7 separate regions of the Homo sapiens genome follow, and all the other regions are linked to region 4. Evidence: promoter capture Hi-C in 16 types of primary human blood cells and fetal thymus (Javierre and others, 2016). All regions are on one chromosome and are shown on one strand. The core of a region is centred on a gene start or on the middle of the fragment in contact, and the rest is flanking DNA. Distances in the headings are between cores, read along the strand shown. Region 1 has its middle 12 kb from the start of LINC01095. Region 2 has its middle 32 kb from the start of LINC01095. Region 3 has its middle 2.2 kb from the start of LSM6. Region 4 holds the start of TTC29-AS1 (TTC29 antisense RNA 1). Region 5 has its middle 24 kb from the start of LSM6. Region 6 overlaps LOC105377469 (a long non-coding RNA gene). Region 7 has its middle 40 kb from the start of ZNF827.

Region 1 (2,951 bases), core at 124-2,623, 800 kb before region 4:
CCTGCTTCCATCCTCTGATCTTAATTAGCCATGAAGAGAAAATGCTTGAAAAATTTTTGCGTGACTCCCACCAACCTGGAACTCCTCGAAGCTCCTTGTGAATAGGGCTGTTTGTGTGGAGAACGACAGTCAGTTTAGAAAGCTGATGGACTCATCAAAATTTATGTGATTCGAATCCAAGATAAGAAAATGTCCATAGGCATGAGTCATTCTAATGAGCACAACTGGGAATTATGGACACACGTTTCTATGTAAGAAGCTTAGAATGCATCCCAAATTATGAGATATTAGAAGTAGAACCATTAAACCCAAATGATTTTGCTTACCTTTCACTGAGTGTAATCCAATCAACGTACTTCCTCCTGTTCTTTCAGTACCATCTCCAAGTATTACACAAAGATTTTCTTGTGGCTTTTGTTCTTGAATTCAATGCTTTCCATTGGTTTCAAGTGAATAATCGGGGCCTTATGGTAAAAGCAAAATAGACTTACTTCCAATCTTTTAAATTTAGCTAAAACTGAGAGGATTTTGTTTGGCTTCCACTATCCCTCCTTGATTCTATTCCTTTTAGGTTGACTTTTTTTAAATGCCACACAAACACACACACACACACACACACACACACACACACACACACACACACACACCAAAAAAATTGTAAGTAAGGAGAAACTAAACGTGAGTTAAACATGATCACATTTACTTTGGCCACTGTGTATATAGTTCTTCATCTTGACTTCATGACTTAAATACTAGAAAACTATGAAGCACTCTTACCATCAGGAAGGGAGAAATTATATAAAATTGGGGTCAGAGCAATGGCTTCTAATCCTACTCTGTGCAGAATTCAATTGTTAATAAAATGGATCTGATTCAAAAGCTCAGGGAGGCTAAACAGACCAGTCCATATTCCCCCATGTTGTCAATTGATTCAAATAATGATGGGACAATTCAAAGAGTGAGTTTTTCAAGTCTTCAAACAGGCACTTTCTTGAAGTCCAGCCAAAGTTTTTTGTATTTCAGCCTTGTATGTTATGCTGTAACATATGGCCATATTGAGGTACAGATTTCATCTCCACCAGCATCAGTGTGGTTGTCATTTACCTCGTTCTGTCTCTTGATGACCCTATTATTATCTCTGTTATTAGGTGTTGGAGTCCAATGTCATTTTTTCCTGGGCTGTTTATCATTAGGTGGTTTGAAGAAGGTGACTGCCAGCCATAGAGGGAAACACGGGGTAGTCTGTGTTAACATGCATTCAGAACTCTCTTTGACATCTTCCTCATTTTAATATTGAAAAATTTCTCTCTTCTGCACCAACTTGGATTGTTAGCCAGCTGTTCTTTCAATGGAGGGACAATTGTGTTCCAAAAAATGGAACTGACGGAAGGACACGGGTTGATGGCTGTGCTTCTCAGGGAGGGGCTGGGCTGCTGGATGCACTTGATGAGCTCGTTGATCTCATGGGGTAGCTGAGGCATCACAGACAAGCAGGGAGGATGTTCCCCAGGTTGGGAGCGGCCGTCTGCATCCACCCTCAGCAGTCCCTGTTGTGACTTACCTGGGAAGCCCCATCAGGAGGTGCCTCCGATTTCCATATCTGCCCAAAGCACTCAGCTTGAAAGTTACTGTAATCATGGAACAGCTTGGATGAAAAACCTTCTTGTACCCCAGTTGGCAGACACTAGCTATTTCTTTTGAAAGTCAATAACCTTGCCCCTTCCTGCTCCTTCTCAGGCCCATACCTTCCTTGTTTTTTCAGCTATTTGGGGCATTTAAAAATAAATCCAGCTCTGAGCTGCAGCAGAGCATTGATACCATCTTCTTCTAGGCCCTGGCACACAAACTCAGCACAATTGACTGTTTTGATATTTCTGGGCTGAAACTCTTCTCCTACCCAGATCTGCTGTGCATCCTGGTTCTCTAGCATGTCTGCACTCATACCCATCAATTAGTATGGCAGGATGCCCACTTAAACAAGGTGCGGAGCCAATTTCAACAAGGCAATGTGCCAGTCCAATCCCGGCTCAGATAGGGACTGAAGCAAGTGACACAGCATGTCCACGAAGAGCCTTCCTGGTGGATGGTGCTGCCAAAGTAGGGCCTCGTGTTTCACTCCAGGGAGCTGTCGCCGTGGAAATCTTTAATCACCATGCATTGTTTTCACTCTATTCTTTCTCCTCTTAGAAAAGAAATTAGTATTATAGGATTTTCTGGATTCAGGATGCTTCTTTTAAAATGAAAATTTCTTTTGTATAAGCAAAAGATACAAATGGGGCATTGCAAAGCACAGAAAGACACAACAAGAAGCATAGGCCGTCTTTCTTCCCCAGAGCCACACACTGCCTTGGCAGCCAGAGAAGCGTCATTGCAGACAGACAGCAAATTACTCTTTGTGTACTGGTGAGGACCTGGAAAAAGTGGCTCTGATAGTTGTAGAGAGGTAAGAAGCACTATTGCAAAAATACCAGAGTTGCCCTTTTCCAAGAAGCTTCCCCCTCTAGCTCATGGATAAAGGCCTCAAATCAGTTAAGAGGCTAAAGAAGGACTAGGAAGGTTATAGGAGTGGGATAGGGAAAGCTAACCTCCTATGAGTTTAAATAATTTATTAATGAAAAGAAGCTGTGAACCTCTGCTCTGATGCCCACCCCCTGCCCCCGAAAAAAGGTCGTAAAAAAACCTACCCTTCTAAGATCTACCCTCAAGGTAGAATGAACTTTTTCAATAGTAAGGCAAGTTCAGGTAAGCACCATGGAGCCAGGAATAGGCAGACAAGGGCAATAATGTTATTAACAATAGTGGTTTTTTTTTTAACATGGTTTGTTTTATATCATTTTTATTTAACTATGTTTTCCCATTTTTCCTCCTGAAACAAAGGTATGATTGCTTTTTTAATAAGAAAAAAATACAAAAAAGAAAAACTTCATTTTGGAAAAATAAGATAGCAAGTT
Region 2 (2,700 bases), core at 80-2,579, 840 kb before region 4:
GAGTGGGAATCAATTCATTTGGAGACACAAGTTGGCAATTAAAAAAAGTGTGAAGATGCATATTTTAGCCTGCTCCAGCCGCCATAGCAGAATACCATAGGCTGGGTGTCTCAAACAACAGAAAATATTTTTTTCATAGTTAAATAGTTAATTTCTAGAGGTTGGAAGTTGAAGATCAAGGTTCCAGTGGGGTTTGGTTTCTGGTGAGGGCCTTCTTTCTGGCTTGGAAGTGGCCATTTTGTCCTTATATGGCCTTTTTTCTGAGTGTACTCAGAGAGAGAGAACATGCATGGTATCTGATGTCTTCTCTTATAAAGACACTAGTCTTTGGTAGGGTTCCACTGTTATGACCAAATCATTTTATCTTAATTACCTCCTTACAGGTTCTATCTCCAAATACAGTCATGTTGGGGGTTAAGGATTCAATATATGACATGAAGGGGAACACATAATTTGGTCCACAGCAATCCACATACACTAAGACCCAGAAGTTCTAGAAACATTTCCTAGAGAAATTCTTGTGCACGTACACAAAGAGATGTGTAGAAAGAATATTCACTGTTGCATTATTTATAATAGCAACATGAAAAAAATTTAGATAACCACCATTAGGAAATGGAGAAAGAAATTGTAAAATCATCAAACAATAAAGTAATACACAGTAGTTAAAAGAGCAAACAAGAACCACATATTGTGGCTCTGTCAGCATGAATAAATCTTAGAAATAAAATTTGAGTATGAAAATCAAACTACAGAAAGTATACACAGAACATGATACCATTAAAGTGAGAAAGTAACTAAGCAGTAGGTCTTAGTTTCTTATGGATATACTCATATGAATGAAACATATGTTAAAAATATGACAATATGGATGGAAAGGATGAACCTCAATTCAGGCTAGTGGCTGATTTAGAGAAGGAGGAAGGGCAGTAACAGGATAGGTGACTTTAATTTTGTCTGTAATATTTTATTCTCAAGTTAAAAGGATCTGAGGTAAATATGGCAAAGTAATAACATCTACTAAAGGGATAGTGGGTACATGGTAATTTGATATATAATTTCTGTTCCTTGTGTTTGCAGTTTTCATAATGAACACCAAATAAGCAAACAAATGTTTAAAAGGCAAAATGTCCCTGAGAGTTAGAGAGATCTAGGTCCCAACTGAGTTCCCATTATTCACTAGATATAGGTCCTTGGGCAAGTTACCTAACCTCCTTAAGTTGCTCCTATTTATGTATTTTCATCTATACCTACCTCTTGGGAATATTGTGAAATTCAACAGCGCTCATGTAAAGCATGTGGCACCCAGCATACAAAACAATGCTAGTTCCCTTTCTTACATCAAGTACTGTTTAGTAACATTGATTTAAACTCCATGTCTTTGTCTAAACTAAAAGAAAGCTCTGAGTGGTTGTAATGAGACAGAATAATTTTCCTGTTTCCCTTATTGTGACCTTTCTTTCTTTTTTTTTTAACCCCTACCTTGTCTCAGGTATTTAAATGTGTGTGTGCATGCACAAACACATAAGCAGTACTTCACAAGTGCTTTAGAGCAGAGGCTAAACTTTTGGAGGTTGGGAAAATGGTCTCTTTAATGTCATGTAAGTGTGAAGCATCTTTTCACTTACAGGCTTAAAAGAACTATATTGTAGCAAAACTAGAAATCAGTTAAAGTTTTTGTGTTGAGACAGTACTTGCTGATTGAATTCTCATGGTGTATGTGTTCTTTTTCTTTTTCTTTCTTTCTTTTTTTGAGCTGGAGTCTTGCTATGTTGCCCAGGCTGATCTCAAACTCCTGAACTCAGTCAATGCTGCTTCAGCTTCCTGAGTAGCTTATTACAGGTATGTACTACTGCACCTGGCTGTATTTATTTTTATGTAGTCTTTCATAACAATATAATGAGGACAGTTTTGTGTGGTCAGTTTTAAATTATCCTTGCTGTGGAGACATCAGAAAGCTCAGGAAAATCCAGAAACTTCATCTGAATCAATTGTTCTCATTTTTTTAAACTGCCACTTGAACTATTAGCAGAAAAGATCATCAATTCAAGTATCTACCCCTTTTTGTTCTTTTTTTCATGCTAGAGAATTTGTTAAAGAAAGGTTCAAAAGTCACAACATTAGCAGCAATAAAGGTAAAAAATAAAAATAAAAGGCTGAGCCTGATGGTTCACACTGGTAATCCCAGCACTTTGGGAGGCCAAGGAAGGCGGATCACCTGAGGTCGGGAGCTCAAGACCAGCCTGACCAACATTGGAGAAACCCCGTCTCTACTAAAAATATAAAATTAGCCAGGTATGGTAGCGCATGCCTGTAATCCCAGCTACTCAGGAGGCTGAGGCAGGGGAATCTGCCTCTAGGGAGGCAGAGGTTGCGGTGAGTCAAAATTGCTCCATTGCACTCCAGCCTGGGCAACAAGAGAGAAACTCTGTCTCAAAAAGTAAATAAATAAATAAATAAAATAATAATGATAAAATAAAAATAAAAAATAAAAAAGTCTCCGCTACTTTGGGGACAAAATGCTAACTGAAAATCAAGCTGATCAAATTGGTTGCTTTCAATTTTATGCTGTCTCTAGACTGAAGCTCAGAGCTTCTTATAACTAAGGAGGAGAGGAGAAAGATATGTAGAGAGCAGGCAGAAAAGAGTCTAAATAACCAAGGACTGCTATGCAGGTTGTGCACTGCACAACTCCAGAAA
Region 3 (2,700 bases), core at 1-2,500, 760 kb before region 4:
CTTCCTTCTTTCTTTCTTTCTTTCTTTCTTTCTTTCTTTTTTCCTTCTTCTTTCTTTCTTTCTCTCTTTCTTTCTTCATTTAAGAAACAGTCTCGCTCTATCATCCAGACTGGAGTGCAGTGGCATGATCTCATCTCACTGCAACCTTAGCCTGTCGGGTTCAAGAGATTCTCATGCCTAGCCTCCCAGGTAGCTGGGATTACAGGCATGTGCCACTACACCCAGCTAATTTTTTAATTTTAAGTAGAGACGGGATTCAACATCTTGGCCAGGCTGGTCTTGAACTCCTGACTTCAAGTGATCCGCCAACCTTGGCCTCCTAAAGTGCTGGGATTACAGGTGTGAGCCACTGCCCCCGGCCTCTCTTCATTTTCTATAACAAATAATTTTCATATCCCATGATTAAAGGCAGATAATGGTGGCCCCAAGTATCCAAAACTAGCACATCACAGCTTATGAGCTCCTATTGTACAGTCTGAAGGTCCAGGAAAGGTTCAGGTCCATGCCAGCACTTCATACCAGTTAATGCATTGCTCCAACAAGACCAGCCAGTATTCTTGGAAGCTTAACATCCATGTTACATATTAAAATCTGCTTTGGAGAGTGTTGGTCAATCCAATTACATGTTTGTATTTATCATCATCATCATCATCATCAACAACAACCACAACAACATCACAATACATTCATCTACATGTTCACAGGGCTGTTGGGTGTTTAATAAGCTAGACATGAGACCATCTTTTATGAATATGAAACATTGAAGGACATAGTTATTTAAAGGCATATGTACTATAGAACTGTAGAAGGGACAAACAATGAAGTGGCAAGAGTTCTCTTAGCATTTATATATCTGCATTTGTCTATTTTAAGCATAATAGCTTCAAGAGAATGAAAAGACAAGCCATAAACTGGGAGAAAATATTTGTAAAACACATATCTGATAAAGAACTATTATTCAAAATATACAAAGGACTCTTAAAACTCAACAAAAAGAAAGAACAAACTGATTCAAAATTGGGCCAAAGACCTGAACAACCAAAGATATACATATGGCAAATAAGTATATAGAAAGATCCTCCATATCATATGTCACTAGGGAATTACAACTTTAAACAACTATGAGATAGTCACTAAGCAGCTATTAGACTAGTCAAAATCCAAAGGACTGGAAGCACCAAATGCCCATGAGGATGTGGAACAATGGAAACTCTCATTCACTCCTAGTGGGAATGCAAAATGGTACAGCCACATTGTAAGACAGTTTGGCAGTTTCTTACAAAACTAAACATACCCTTGCTATATGATCTAGCAGTCATACTCCTTGATATTTGCCCAAATAAGCTGAAAACTTATTTCTATACAAAAACCTGCATACACATATTCATAGCAGCTTTATTCATAACTTCCCAAACTTGGAAGCAACCAAGATGTCCTTCTGTAGGTAAATGGATAAATAAACTGTGGTACATCCAAATAATGGAATATTATTCAGAACTTAAAAGAAATGAGTTGTCAAGCCATGAAAAGGCGCAGAGGGGTCTTAAATGCATATTTCTAAGTGAAAGAAGCCAGTCTGAACAGGCTACACAGTGGGGTGGTGCAGTGTATGCACCACTAACTGTGTACGGTATGATTCCAAATATATGATATTGTGGAAAAAGGCAAAACTTTGGAGACAGAAAAAAGATCAGCGGTTGCCAGTGGGGAGGAAGGGATAAATAGGTGGAGCACAGAGAATTTTTAGGGCAGTGAAACTATTCTGTATGATACTGTAATTGTGGGTACATTTCATTATGCATTTGTCAAAACCTATAGAATGTGCAACACCAAGAGTGAACCCTAATGTAAACTTTGGCCTTTGGATGATAATGATGTGTCAGTGTAGGTTCATCAGTCCTAACAACTAAATGAAACTAAACTACATAAGTTAAACTAAAGCTTGCCAAAATATTTTTATGACTTTAAGGCTCCTTAATAAATTAATGTTTACATTCAGGGTTTTGAAGACTAGTATTCACCAAAAGTCTTGCAGTGTTTTCTTTGCATCATAAAAGATGCTGAAAGCAAAAACCTGGGAAATACGGAAAATTGCCTTGTGAGTTAGTAAAAGTCATTTATAAGCTGCTGAGGGGCTTTTGGGAACAGCCACACTTTTTATAAGCTTGTTAGCTCATGAATTAATTCAGGATGCCCACCCCGTGTGTCAAACTGGGCCCTTACCCAGCTACTCCCCTTAGAGAAGGTTGCAGCTGCTCAGCAGATGAACTAGGCCCTTAAAACTCCTCATGGCTCCCTACCCACCACACTAGTGTTAACGGCTCGATTAGGGCTCTGTAGGAAAGGGAAAGAAGTTTGAATCAAAAATTTTCTTTTTTTTTTTAATAATTTAAACAATCAGTAAGGAATGTGCAATTTGATGTCGTTTGCAAAGAAAGTTTTTAGGAACAGGGCTTTTTATCCTATTATGTTTGTTCTTTGCACGTAATTATTTGATTTAAATGGTACTTTTCTTAAAATTTTTATTTACATTGTATTTTATATTGCAAGAACTTCAAATACAGCCCTCACAATAAATCAGTAACTGTTCGGTCTTTATCCAAACTGAACTTTTATAGAAGGATATAAGGAAGTCTCTATTCTTTAACAAATCATATCCAGTTGTTTTCTGTCCCTGATATCAATCAAAAGTTCATTTCT
Region 4 (2,905 bases), core at 11-2,510:
GGAGAAAAAGGCTTTAAAAGATATGAAAGTAGGCCAGGCGCGGTGGTTCACGCCTGTAGTCCAAGCACTTTGGGAGGCTGAAGTGGGTGGATCACAAGGTCAGGAGATAGAGACCATCCTGGCCAACATGGTGAAACCCCGTCTCTACTAAAAATACAAAAAAAATTAGCCAGGCGTGGTGGCGGACGCCTGTAGTCCCAGCTACTTGGGAGGCTGAAGCAGGAGAATGGCTTGAACCTGGGAAGCAGAGCTTGCAGTGAGCTGAGATCGCACCACTGCACTCCAGTCTGGGTGACAGACCGAGACTCCGTCTCAAAAAAAAAAAAAAGATATGAAGTAAATTGTTCTTTGTTTCTTTACAGCCCAAACTCACTGAATATAGTAATGAACAGTCCTAACTGCCACTAAGCTTGCTGACAAAGTGATGCTCAATAAACATCCACTGATGATGCTAAAAATAAGATGTTCGGAAAGAAAGTAATATCTTAGAGATGCCCACAATTTTGAACCAAATATATCCTTCTGCATAATAGAACTTCATATCTGAAGCAGAAAATAATATTGAGCAGATTAACACACTCTGTCCCCAGATGATTTTGTTTCCTCACATACATAGCTAAAGCTGTAAAGTGCCCTCTAGAAATGTTTATTTGAATCTATAAATGACTCTTTTATTACTTAGCTACTCAAAGTAATTATGATATGATAATAAGTGATATTTTAAGTTCTTTTTGAAAACAATAATGCATTCTGATAATATTATACAGAATTAAAAATCCGAAGTACAGAAGTACAGAAACTCTTCGGACATGACTGTCTGTACTTGTTAAAGATCAGTTAGATAGTAGCAGTGAACCATTTGAAGTTCACTGCTAAGTCAAATTTGACTTTGAAGTTTAAAGTCAAATCATCATTATCAAATATGGAATGTGAATACAATGGATTTGATTTTTTTAAATGCACCTATAAGGCACAACAATAATCTAGTCACTTAGAAAGTAACGAAGCATACTGAAATTTCTTCTGTGAAGGTAGATGATACAAAACCCAGAAGCCTTTTGCCTTTGAACGATTCTACCATTCCCAAGTAAAATAAACCCCCATCACTTGGGTTTGGCCATTCCAGTGACAACTACATGTTAGCTTATCCTGCTTGCTTACTCATTTACATTGTATTATGAGGTCAAGAAACGGCTCACTGTGGAGGTCACATTCAAGTTGACACCTGCATAAGAAGAAGTGTCAGCAATAAGGCCACATTGGGAGTAGAGAGTGGTGGAGAGAAAGAGAGAAGGTCAGAGAGGTCAGTAAAGTCCAGACCATGCACAGCTTCAGGTCAGGTGAAGAATGGGAAGCTATTGGCAGATTTTAAGCAGGGGAATGTCATGATCTAATGTTTTCAAAAGACCACTCTAGCAGGAGTGTGGTGGAGTGAGAGTGGGTGTGGGAAGAGCAGTTATATGACCATTTAAGCGATCTTAGCAGACATGATGGCAGCTCTGCAATGAAGACCAGGAGATGAACACGGGATACATTTTGGAGTTGTAGCTGATCGGGCATACTGATGGATTAGAGGGGGGTAGCAGTAAGCAAGGTAAGACTCAAGGCTGCCTTGATGTTATTTGCTGAATGGAGGAAAGGCTGTGGGACGAATATTGGGGATAAGAGAGGAGTAGGGGTGAAGCAAGAGTCCAGTTTTGGGTTATATTAACCTTGGGATGTCTGTGATATATCCAAGTAGACACATCAAGGAGGCAATTGGATCTAAAAACTTTCAGCTTGATGGAGAGGCCAGTGCTGGATTTATAAATTGAGTAGCCGTTGGGTTATTGCTAATGTTTAAAGCTGTAAGACTGGGTCCAGGTTGAGAGTGTGGCTGAAGTGCACCTAGGACCCAGCCTTTGGGCACCTCACCACTGAGAGTTTGGAAAGAGAAAGCAGCCTGCAAAGAAGACTGAAGTGCTCCAGTGTGGAGAAAAACCACAGAATATGGCATCCCGAAAGTCACAAGCACAAAATGTTCAAGAAGATGAGAGCGTTCAACTTGGTCAAATGCTGTGAAGACATCTAGGAAGCTGGGAACAGAAACATAACTATTAGATGTGATAAAAATAGGGGTCATGGGTGACCCTAAAGAGGCATTTCAGTAAGTATGGGGGCTGGAAACCTATTTAGAGTCAACTGAGGCAAAAATGAAATGTGAAAATATTAAGACAGCACTTTTCTTGCTGTCTTGGGTAGATCAAAATGGGGTAGAACCTGGAAGGGGATAAGATGTCAAGAAAAAAGTTTGAGTAGAAATGAATACCAGTGAGATCGATCCAATGAAAAAGGAGAAATTGATGGTGTAGGAGAAAAGCAAATTTAACTGCAGGAGGTTAAGTCTTGGGAGCAGGTAAGGGGATGAGATGCAGAGCACAAGCAGAGGGACCATGCTTAGATGACAGTAGGAACTCTCCACCCATCGCATTGGGAGGAAAGTCACAGCATGTGAGTTTAGGTTGGCATATTTTGGGGTACATGATGAGAGGTTATTTTGAAACTAGACAGAGCATATGTGTACTATGGGATATCAAAGCCAGTGTACATCAATTGTATTAATGAGTATACACAAATATATCGATCACCATCTTAAAGACACGAATAAGGCAGTAGAGAGAGGGATTTGAGGATATATCTTAGACATTGTTTTTGCCTGATTTGATTCTTCCATTTCTACCCATTACATTTTCATATACTGAAGATCTATGACTACCAGTTAGATAATTTTATAATGCAACCAGACAGGGAGCCAAACTCAAAATCTATTTTCCTTGAGAAGTTCTATCCTATCGTCTTAGTCTTCTCTGATTTTTTCTTGACCTCTAGGCTGCACCTCACGGTACAGCCGGCACTCGATCATTTC
Region 5 (3,001 bases), core at 85-2,584, 780 kb before region 4:
AATTCTTCCTTATAATTTCTATCTCTCTACTCACATTACTATCTTTCTGTTTGTTCTTGCATGTTGTCCACTTTTTCTGTTATAGCCCTTAACATGTTAATCATAATTGGTTTAAATGCCTGGTCTGATGATTTTACAATCTCTGCTGTATCTAAGTATGGTTCTGATTCTGCTTTATCTCTTCAAACTGTTTTTTGTCTTTTAGTATGCCTTGTAATTTTTTTTTGTTGAAAGTAGCATGTGATGTAGTGAGTGAAAGAGAATGAAGAGAATAAACTTTTAGTGCAAGGTTTTATGTTTACGTGGCCAGAGTTAGACTTTGTTTACTGTTTGCTGTAGCTGTAGGTATCAGAGACTAATTTTTTTTCTGGTGGCCTTGTTTTAGTCTCTCCTGTTATCTTTGGGTTTCTTTAGAGGCTTCTTTTTTTTTTTTTTTTCTGAGACAGAATCTCACTCTGTCACCCAGGCTAGAGTACAGTGGCGCTATCTCGGCTTACTGAAACCACCACCTCCCAGGTTTAAGCAATTCTCCTGTCTCAGCCTCCTGAGTAGCTAAGATTACAGGTATGCACCACCATGCCTGGCTAACTTTTGTATTTTTAGTAGAGATGGGGTTTCACCATATTGGTCAGGCTGGTCTTGAACTCCTGACCTCAAGTGATGCACCCGCCTCGGCCTCCCAAAGTGCTGGGATTACAGGCATGAGCCATCATGCTTGGCCTAGAGACTTCTAAAATAAAGTATGGGAGGTGCAGTTATTTCAGTTGTAATCTCCTGTTATTGTATAGGAGCCTTATTGATGTGTTGATATGATGTGGGGAAAGGCGAATCATTCTATGGGCCTATGATTAGGTAGCAGTATTTCAGTGAGCCTGTGCCCCTGAACCATGGCCTTCACACATGCTTTTCAGTTTTTTTTCTCTTAGATGAGACAGGAAGGCTACAGAGGGTTAGAGTTGGTTATTTTTCTCCCCCCAGGTAAGTTAGGTTCTGGTAGACCCTACTTTGGTTAGGCTCTTGTAAACTGGTTTTCCTTGAAGGTAGGTCTTGTTAGGAGGAATAGAGCTCTGGTATATTTCAAAATGACTCTAGACTTCCCAGACTTACAATGGTTTGACTTACAATTTTTCAACTTTACAATGGTACAAAAAGTATACACATTCAGTAGAAACCATACTTCAAGTATCCATACAAACATTCTATTTTTCATTTTCAGTGCAGTATTCAATAAGTTACATGAGATATTCAACATTTAAAAAAATAGGCTTTATGTTAGATAATTTTTCCCAGCTCTAGCCTAATGTAAGTGTTCTGAGCATGTTTACGGTAGGCTAGGCTAAGCTATGATGTATGGTAGGTTAGGTATATTAAATGCATTTACGATATTTTCAACTTATGATGGGTTTATCAAGACATAATCCCATTATAAGTTAAGGAGCATCTGTACATGTCCCCTCCTGCTGATGGAAGCACAAATGACTTTTTTGTAACCTTCACTGTAAGAACCTAATAAGGCTCCTGGAGGTAAAACTCTTGAAAGTGTGGAGGCCCCCTAAGACTGGGCTCCCCCTGGCATTTTTAACTCTCAAGCTGTCCACACGGGGCCTCTAGCAATTCATCAGTTACCGTTTAGGTTGTCTGGCCCTGGTACTGGTTCCTGTGGAGGTTTCTCCTCCAGTAAACCATGTTTCTCTGAATCCACCTATCTCTCCAACTTTTAGGGCAGCGGTTTGCCTTGTGACTTCAATTCTCAGATGGATCTAAAAACAGTTGTTGATTTTTAGTATGTTCAGCTTTTTTCTTGTACAGATGGGAGAAATGACTTCCAAGCTCCTTACATGTCAGACTGGAAACTGGAGAGCGAGACTTTTCTTTTGCTTGCCATTTATAAACTAAAATTTTAGGGAAGGTGATTCAGTATTATACTAATAAGGCTGCCTACCATGACCTACAATATTGTGCAATTCTTGCTCTACATGTATAAATATATGCGATTGGTGAAAAGCAAACAAAAACAAAACCCTGAAAGATAAGAACTGGTATGATATGGGGGCCATGAAGTCTTGTGCTCAGCCTAAGTGGGCCAAAGTTTAAGAGCCACTACAGCATATTGTGACCTTGCCACTTAGCCACCTATGTCCCAAGGATATTATTTCTTCCCTTACCTCCACTGAACCTGAAATCTCTCCTACTACCTATCGACACTCTTATTAAACCCAAGAGACAACTATAAAACATGCCCTAGCCATGTGCACAGTCTTAAATATTGTGCCAAGTTTCTAGCCAAGTCCTTGTCTCTTCTCCCACTCCAGTAAAATGTTAAGAAATCCTCCATCTCTTTCCTTTAGAACCCATGAAACAGATAACCTAAGAAATCTGCCTTGTTCTTTTCTCTTGGTCCTAACTTGGCCCACTTCAATATTCCAGATCTGAGTATTGAAGGCAATCCAGAAGGCAATCCAAGTCTTACCAAGAAAGAGAAAGGAAACTATATATCCTTCCAAAGGTGCATCCTGTCATCCTTGACACATGGAAGGCAGGCATTGTTAGGGTTCTACTGGGCCACTAGGGTCAATATGTATCATGTGCATCAGAATCATCTGAGACATCTATTAAAATTACAGATGTCTGGGTGCCTGTCCAAACTCATCAAATCAGAAGTTCTGAAGTTATCATAAGCTCCCCTGATTTTCTTGTGTGCATCAAAATTTGAGAGCCACCGAGTTAAAGTAGCATGGAGGGTGGGAGGGCAGGCACGAGGAGTAGTAGTCATCATTAAGATTTGAATACATTTTTAAGTCAAAATCATCAGGAAAGGCTGACTAGCTTATGGTGCTGGGGTCACATGCTTCTTAGAACTTGAAATATGATCCTTCAAGTAACCATGGTATGAAAATAATTTCTATTACAAACAGTATACCTATTGTGAATAAGGTAATTTTATATATTCTGAAGTACTGCAAATGAAATTATAATGTAAGACACATGACTAATGTGGGTA
Region 6 (2,700 bases), core at 22-2,521, 830 kb before region 4:
GTATTTACATCATCCATTTCAACATCCATGTCAACATACATGTTGCTGAAGGGGTAGCTTTGGGAACTACTGCTCTGAACACAAATTAATGGTAGGAGGTACTGACTGAAAGCATCATGTGGTAGAAAACCCCAAATGCTTTTTTCAAGAACTATATATGAACTGTGTTTGTGCACGCACAGTTGTATGCTCATAAACGTTAATAAATTGGTATTGGGCAACACAATTAACATTCATTTCATTGGAGGCCCACAATATGCTAGGATTTTTTTCCCTTAATGATGTTTCAGAGCAGGATGCTTTGGTCCGAAATACATTGAAACACGCAACAATGAAATTCTATTTCTTTCTAGTAGTATGTTAAAGGCACCATGGGGGACACAAAATTATGAACCCCAAACTGCACCCTCAGGTTATTTACAGCCTATTAAGAAAAGCCATGTTTTTTCCCAATAACAGAGAATTCAAATACAGCTAGTCCCTGTGTTTGTTGTCAGAAAGAGAAAGAAAACCATACTTTGTTGGGACACATCATTATTAGTGTAACAATATATAAACATATGTCAACATGAAAAGCTTAATTTAAAGTATCATGGCATTACAGATCCCTTGTCTGAAGAATAAACTCAGTCAAAGAAAGTTGGAATGACTTGCCCGGGGTCACATAGTACTGATGATATCAGAACCCAGCTTTTTGACTTCCAGGTGGAGAATTACAGGTAAACTGAGAGTCCCTGGCTGGGTTTGGTCAGGTCCTTTATGGCTCTATAATGCTACGACTCTCTGAGAACTCTATGACCATGCTGCCACTCTCCTGACATTCTTTTAATTAATAAAATCACTCAGCTGAACAAAAATAATGGTTTCATTAAGATGCAGAAAATGCCACATTTAATCACTAAAAATGGCATAGTGTATCATTCACCTTAGGGAAATTTTTATGTTTAAATATGCAATATAGAGATATTTTAGATAATTAGCAACAAGGAAAGGCAACTAATCTATTATTGCATAATATTTGATTACCTATTAACTTCGGCCATGTAATTGAACACATAGCCAATGACTGTCACTTCCTGGCACTAAAGCCCAGGTAGATACTGCTCTGTTTTCATTCTGTCATTCTAGCCATTTCTAGGATGAATTTCCTTTTATTTGGAAGGAGGTTTTAAACTGAGCATTTGACGTCACATTGTTACCCACTGAAAAGTGCTCTCTGTAAGTGCTTCCTGAAGAAGGCAAGGTTGAAGTGAACCCTTTCAAACCAATGCGTGGCACTTTGTTAGCATTTGCTGAGTGTCCAGCACTAAGCTAGGCTTGTGAGGTAAGAAAAGAAAGTTTGTACCTGTTTTTATCACATGGGGCCAGTTACCTTTGTCTGCCTTCCAGGCCCTGGTTGCTAAATCCTGGGAAGTCTGTAATTACATTAGAAGATGGGATTATTAGTGATAAAATGTGGTGTTTTATAGATAGTGCTCTGAAACTTTGTTTCAATGGCCTTTCCCACACAGTATCTCAATAACCCTAAGGTAGGCAGGAAAAAAAATGTTACTGAGGCTCAGAGAATTTAAATGGCCTGCCTGAAATGTGACAGAAGGCAGACCCAGGACTAAAATGGAAGTCCTTGGAAGCCTGGCCCAGGGCCGTTCCTTCCTCACAAGGAAGGACTTGTAAAGAGCTTGCTTAATTCAAGGTTCCTTTGGCCTGGGATATCCTTTTGCTCATGCTCACCTGATGCCTCCAAGATAGGATTTCTGGGTATCCCTTCTTACCTGACATGCGTTCTGGCCACATCTTAGCCTGTAGTGCTCATGTACCTTCTTAGTCTCTAATCTGTCTATTGGTGCTTTGATATGTTAACCACGGGCTATCTTACTCCCTCAATTTTATTTTTGGATAAATTGGAGAAAACAGTTTTAAAACGATGAACTATAAGACTTTGATGCTGATTCTTTATTCTCAGTCCCAAGCTTTGCCTATACTTCAAAACAGATCTCAATGGACAAGGAAAAATAATATCAGCATTTCACTGGGCATCTAAAGTGCTAGGCATTGTGCTAAAAACTTTGAATGTTTTTAACATTGTATCAAGATGGGGACTGAAGGGCTTTAAACCCAGGCAGTCTGAATCCAGAACCCAAATGTCAGCTATGACACTGCTGTTGTCTCCCACAATGCCATACTTGCAAGTTTTGTGTAACACAGAGCATTTAGAAATCTCTTTAAAATTATGAAATTCTGGGTTTTCTTCCCCTGCTGTGGCCCAAACACAAACTAAGAACATACCTAACGAACAGCTGCAATTGATATTTTCATCTTAATTAGGGATTAAACATCAAATAAATTATTCTATTTAAGATGATTTATGATGTCCTAACTTTTCCAGTAGTTCATTTCAAACAGATTTTTAATAGTAGGAGAAAACAGTACCATAGTAACTTTTTAAAGTATGTGTGGGAAATTAACTAAAAATATTAAAAAGATCACTCACCCACTGTTAGCCTTTATTTTTTACCCCAAAACAACATGAGAAAATGAGTTTTTTCTTTTACCTTTGCTGTACCTTCCTCTTTGAAAATAAGCCCATTAATAAGAAGATATAAAAGGAAAATGTATCTCAAGACAAATTAAACTTTTTAAAAGAAACAGTTCTATCAAAACAAGTTTGCAAATAAAAAATAATTACCAAATGAACATATT
Region 7 (2,749 bases), core at 238-2,737, 950 kb before region 4:
TGAGGGACATATAACAGAATAACTGCCCAGTAATTTTCAAAAGAGTGAAGGAAAGACTAAGGAACTATTCCAGCCTGAAGGAGGCTAAGGAGACTTAATACCTGAACTCAGCCCATGATTCTGAATGGGAATATTTTTGCTACAAAAGATCAGTGAGACATTTGGCAAAACTTGACTGAGGTTTGGGAATTTGTTGGTAGCAATGTATCTAGTTAATTTCCTGATGTTATGGCTATGCTCTGATTATGTGGGAGAATATTACCACTTGTAGGAAATAAATACTAAAGAATTAGGGGCTGGGTAGGGTGGCCTACACCTATAATCCCAGCACTTTGGGAGGCCAAGGTGGGTGGATCATGAGGTCAGGAGATCGAGACCATCCTGTCTAACATGGTGAAACCCAGTCTCTACTAAAAATGCAAAAAACTAGCTGGGTGTGGTGGCACTCACCTGTAGTCCCAGCTACTCAGAAGGCTGAGGCAGGAGAATTGCTTGAATCCGGGAGGTGGAGGTTGCAGTGAGCTGATCGTGCCACTGCACTCCAGCCTGGGCGACAGAGCGAGACACTGTCTCAAAAAAAAAAAAAAAAAAAAAAAAAAAGAAGAAAAAAAAAGAATTAGGGAGTGGTGATTGGGCATCAGATCAGTAACTTATTTAGACATAGTAAGTAGGGGTCAGGGGGCAAAAAGTTTTCTTTCCCACCTTGTATCTCACTTACAGCCTTTCTAAATGTTTGAGGATGTTTCAGAGTTTTTTCTTTAAAGGAAAAGAAAGAAAAAATGTTGCCACCTGGTTAAACCCCAGGTATCTAAAATTTAGTATATCTCAAACAGAAATGGCCACCCTTCCAAATTGCTCTTTTTCTGACTCTCAATTTTGATAAATGTTACTTATATCTAATCACTTACCAAAGATAACCATGAAAATCAAGAAAACCAAGGGATCATTCTTAATGTCTCTTTCTCTATTACTCCCACATCTAAGCTTTATCTACTCTGCCTCAGAAATACCTCTCAGTGTTAACACGTCTTCATCACTCCCACTACCACTGCGGTGGCCTCTGTCTTTGTCCCTGATGTCACTAACCGGCCTTTCTCCATCCAGCCTGTGTGCTAGCAATGAACTTACTAAAAGTGAATCTTTTCACATTATTATCTTGCTTAGAGATATCGTTTGGCTCTCCATGGCATTCAGGATAAAGTCTGGCATTAGTAGCTTCAAAGCCTTCCTTAATCCCAACCAAACTGTAGTCATCTTATCTTCTGTCTGTCCTGTAAAACAATCAGCTATGCAAACTTTTCAACCTTCCTCAGACATACCTGCCCTCCCTTAACTTTGTGTTTTCACCTATGTTGTCCCTTCTGTGTAAAACACCTATGTTACCTTAAAAGCAGGAGATGCAAATTGGAAGGCCAACAAACTGAATCTAGCCTCCAGAATATTTTGTATGACCAACACAGAGGTTTCAGAAATGTGCAAAGGGCATCCTTTAGGTGTGGTCTTCCCTCTGCTGCTCACCAGGAAGCCCCCAACATCTGGCAACTTCACACGTTCCCTTTTCCTGGAAGGATTTGAGTTGGAGTTTTCAATACTCATCTCCCCCGAAGCCTTTCATGACTTCCCCCTTGTGAAGGCTCCATTCATAATCCCAAAATAGCACTTATCACAGTGTCCCGAGATCTCTGCTTGCATGTGGCTCAACTCTGACTCTCAGCAGGAACTGTGGCACCAACCTAAATTCTACCAAGAAAAGTATAGACACACACTGGAAGGCACTAGTTAGGGATCCAGAAGTGATTCACTCTTTCCTTGGAATATTTTTGATCTCCAAAGATATCTGGAACAACCATTTTCATATGATCCCAGGTCATACATATTTTAGAGGAAAGTTCCAGCAGGGGAAAGTGCTTTTAAAGTTTCTTTTATCTTCTTTGCAAAGGTGGTGATCCTAGATGATTGGCCTGAGCTATGTATTAATATTTTGCCTGATTAAGCTTTTAGGTGGGTTGTGAAGCAGAATGTGAGCTTCTCCTTCACTTTGGTATGGGTGATTCCATTTCTGTTCTAGGTCTGCAGGCCTTTGTACAGTGAGCAAGCAAATGAAGGAGCATTATCAATAGACAGATACATAAATAGATAGTATTGATATACATAATGTATATCATAGATAGAGAGAGAGATAGATAGATGATAGATAGACCGATATGTTTGCTGCCCTAATGGATTGACATAATCATATACATATTATATATATAATAAACATATTTTTTAATTTAAGCGATTGAATAGTGTGTGTGTTTGTGTGTGTGTGTGTGAGATTATCTCAATCCAGTAGAGCAGCAAACATATGTCTAGTACAATTTAATAAGCCTTTTTGTTACATAAGTAAACATCAGACTTTGGCTCAAATAGAAATGAGCAAAAGGATTTGCACAATTCTACCAATACTGCATAAATGTTTATTTTGATGAGTTCTGGGCTACTTTTTAAAGTTTTTTTTTTGTTATTTTGATGAGGTTTTGGCTCTTTGGGGGCATATTAATTATATTATCTCATTACACATTTTTAGAGGATTTTGGAAATTAGGAAGCACAACAAGCAGATGAACACAGGTGGAGACACAATGAAAATACTTACCAGGTGACTTCCCTGAGTGCAGTCACAGGCCCATTTTCTCCCATTAGAAATTAGAACTTAGAAAATCCTGTACAACAGAGATGGCAAACAGATGCCGGACACATGTGGTTCT

Evidence for each region. Contacts are between HindIII fragments. The CHiCAGO score rates a contact against its expected background, and 5 or more counts as called.
Region 1: a contact is called between a fragment that was not itself captured here and the fragment with the promoter of TTC29-AS1 in region 4, in 1 of 17 cell types (endothelial precursors). The highest score is 5.5, in endothelial precursors.
Region 2: a fragment that was not itself captured here is called in contact with the fragment with the promoter of TTC29-AS1 in region 4 in 1 of 17 cell types (endothelial precursors); the score reaches 5.0 in endothelial precursors.
Region 3: a fragment that was not itself captured here is called in contact with the fragment with the promoter of TTC29-AS1 in region 4 in 1 of 17 cell types (endothelial precursors); the score reaches 6.2 in endothelial precursors.
Region 5: a fragment that was not itself captured here is called in contact with the fragment with the promoter of TTC29-AS1 in region 4 in 1 of 17 cell types (endothelial precursors); the score reaches 5.4 in endothelial precursors.
Region 6: a contact is called between a fragment that was not itself captured here and the fragment with the promoter of TTC29-AS1 in region 4, in 2 of 17 cell types (endothelial precursors and megakaryocytes). The highest score is 6.2, in endothelial precursors.
Region 7: a contact is called between a fragment that was not itself captured here and the fragment with the promoter of TTC29-AS1 in region 4, in 1 of 17 cell types (endothelial precursors). The highest score is 5.9, in endothelial precursors.

The regions. Positions count from the first base shown.
Region 1 is chr4:146,132,927-146,135,877 of GRCh38, forward strand. No RefSeq gene overlaps it. Among named protein-coding and RNA genes, the nearest start is that of LINC01095, 12 kb to the left of the region's middle. The HindIII fragment of the contact is 2,232 bases long and covers 258-2,489 here.
Region 2 is chr4:146,088,997-146,091,696 of GRCh38, forward strand. No RefSeq gene overlaps it. Among named protein-coding and RNA genes, the nearest start is that of LINC01095, 32 kb to the right of the region's middle. The HindIII fragment of the contact is 4,912 bases long and covers 1-2,700 here.
Region 3 is chr4:146,172,160-146,174,859 of GRCh38, forward strand. No RefSeq gene overlaps it. Among named protein-coding and RNA genes, the nearest start is that of LSM6, 2.2 kb to the right of the region's middle. The HindIII fragment of the contact is 1,377 bases long and covers 563-1,939 here.
Region 4 is chr4:146,932,744-146,935,648 of GRCh38, forward strand. TTC29-AS1 (TTC29 antisense RNA 1) reads left to right here and starts at 1,261. Exons shown (of 7, transcript NR_188447.1): 1 at 1,261-1,594. The region is part of intron 4 of TTC29 (tetratricopeptide repeat domain 29); the gene reads right to left. The HindIII fragment of the contact is 4,123 bases long and covers 408-2,905 here.
Region 5 is chr4:146,149,907-146,152,907 of GRCh38, forward strand. No RefSeq gene overlaps it. Among named protein-coding and RNA genes, the nearest start is that of LSM6, 24 kb to the right of the region's middle. The HindIII fragment of the contact is 3,839 bases long and covers 1-3,001 here.
Region 6 is chr4:146,106,757-146,109,456 of GRCh38, forward strand. It overlaps LOC105377469 (a long non-coding RNA gene), which reads left to right. Exons shown (of 3, transcript XR_939294.1): 2 at 1,129-1,324. It overlaps LINC01095 (long intergenic non-protein coding RNA 1095), which reads right to left. Exons shown (of 6, transcript NR_038331.1): 6 at 2,699-2,700. Among named protein-coding and RNA genes, the nearest start is that of LINC01095, 14 kb to the right of the region's middle. The HindIII fragment of the contact is 1,394 bases long and covers 575-1,968 here.
Region 7 is chr4:145,977,705-145,980,453 of GRCh38, forward strand. No RefSeq gene overlaps it. Among named protein-coding and RNA genes, the nearest start is that of ZNF827, 40 kb to the left of the region's middle. The HindIII fragment of the contact is 1,010 bases long and covers 983-1,992 here.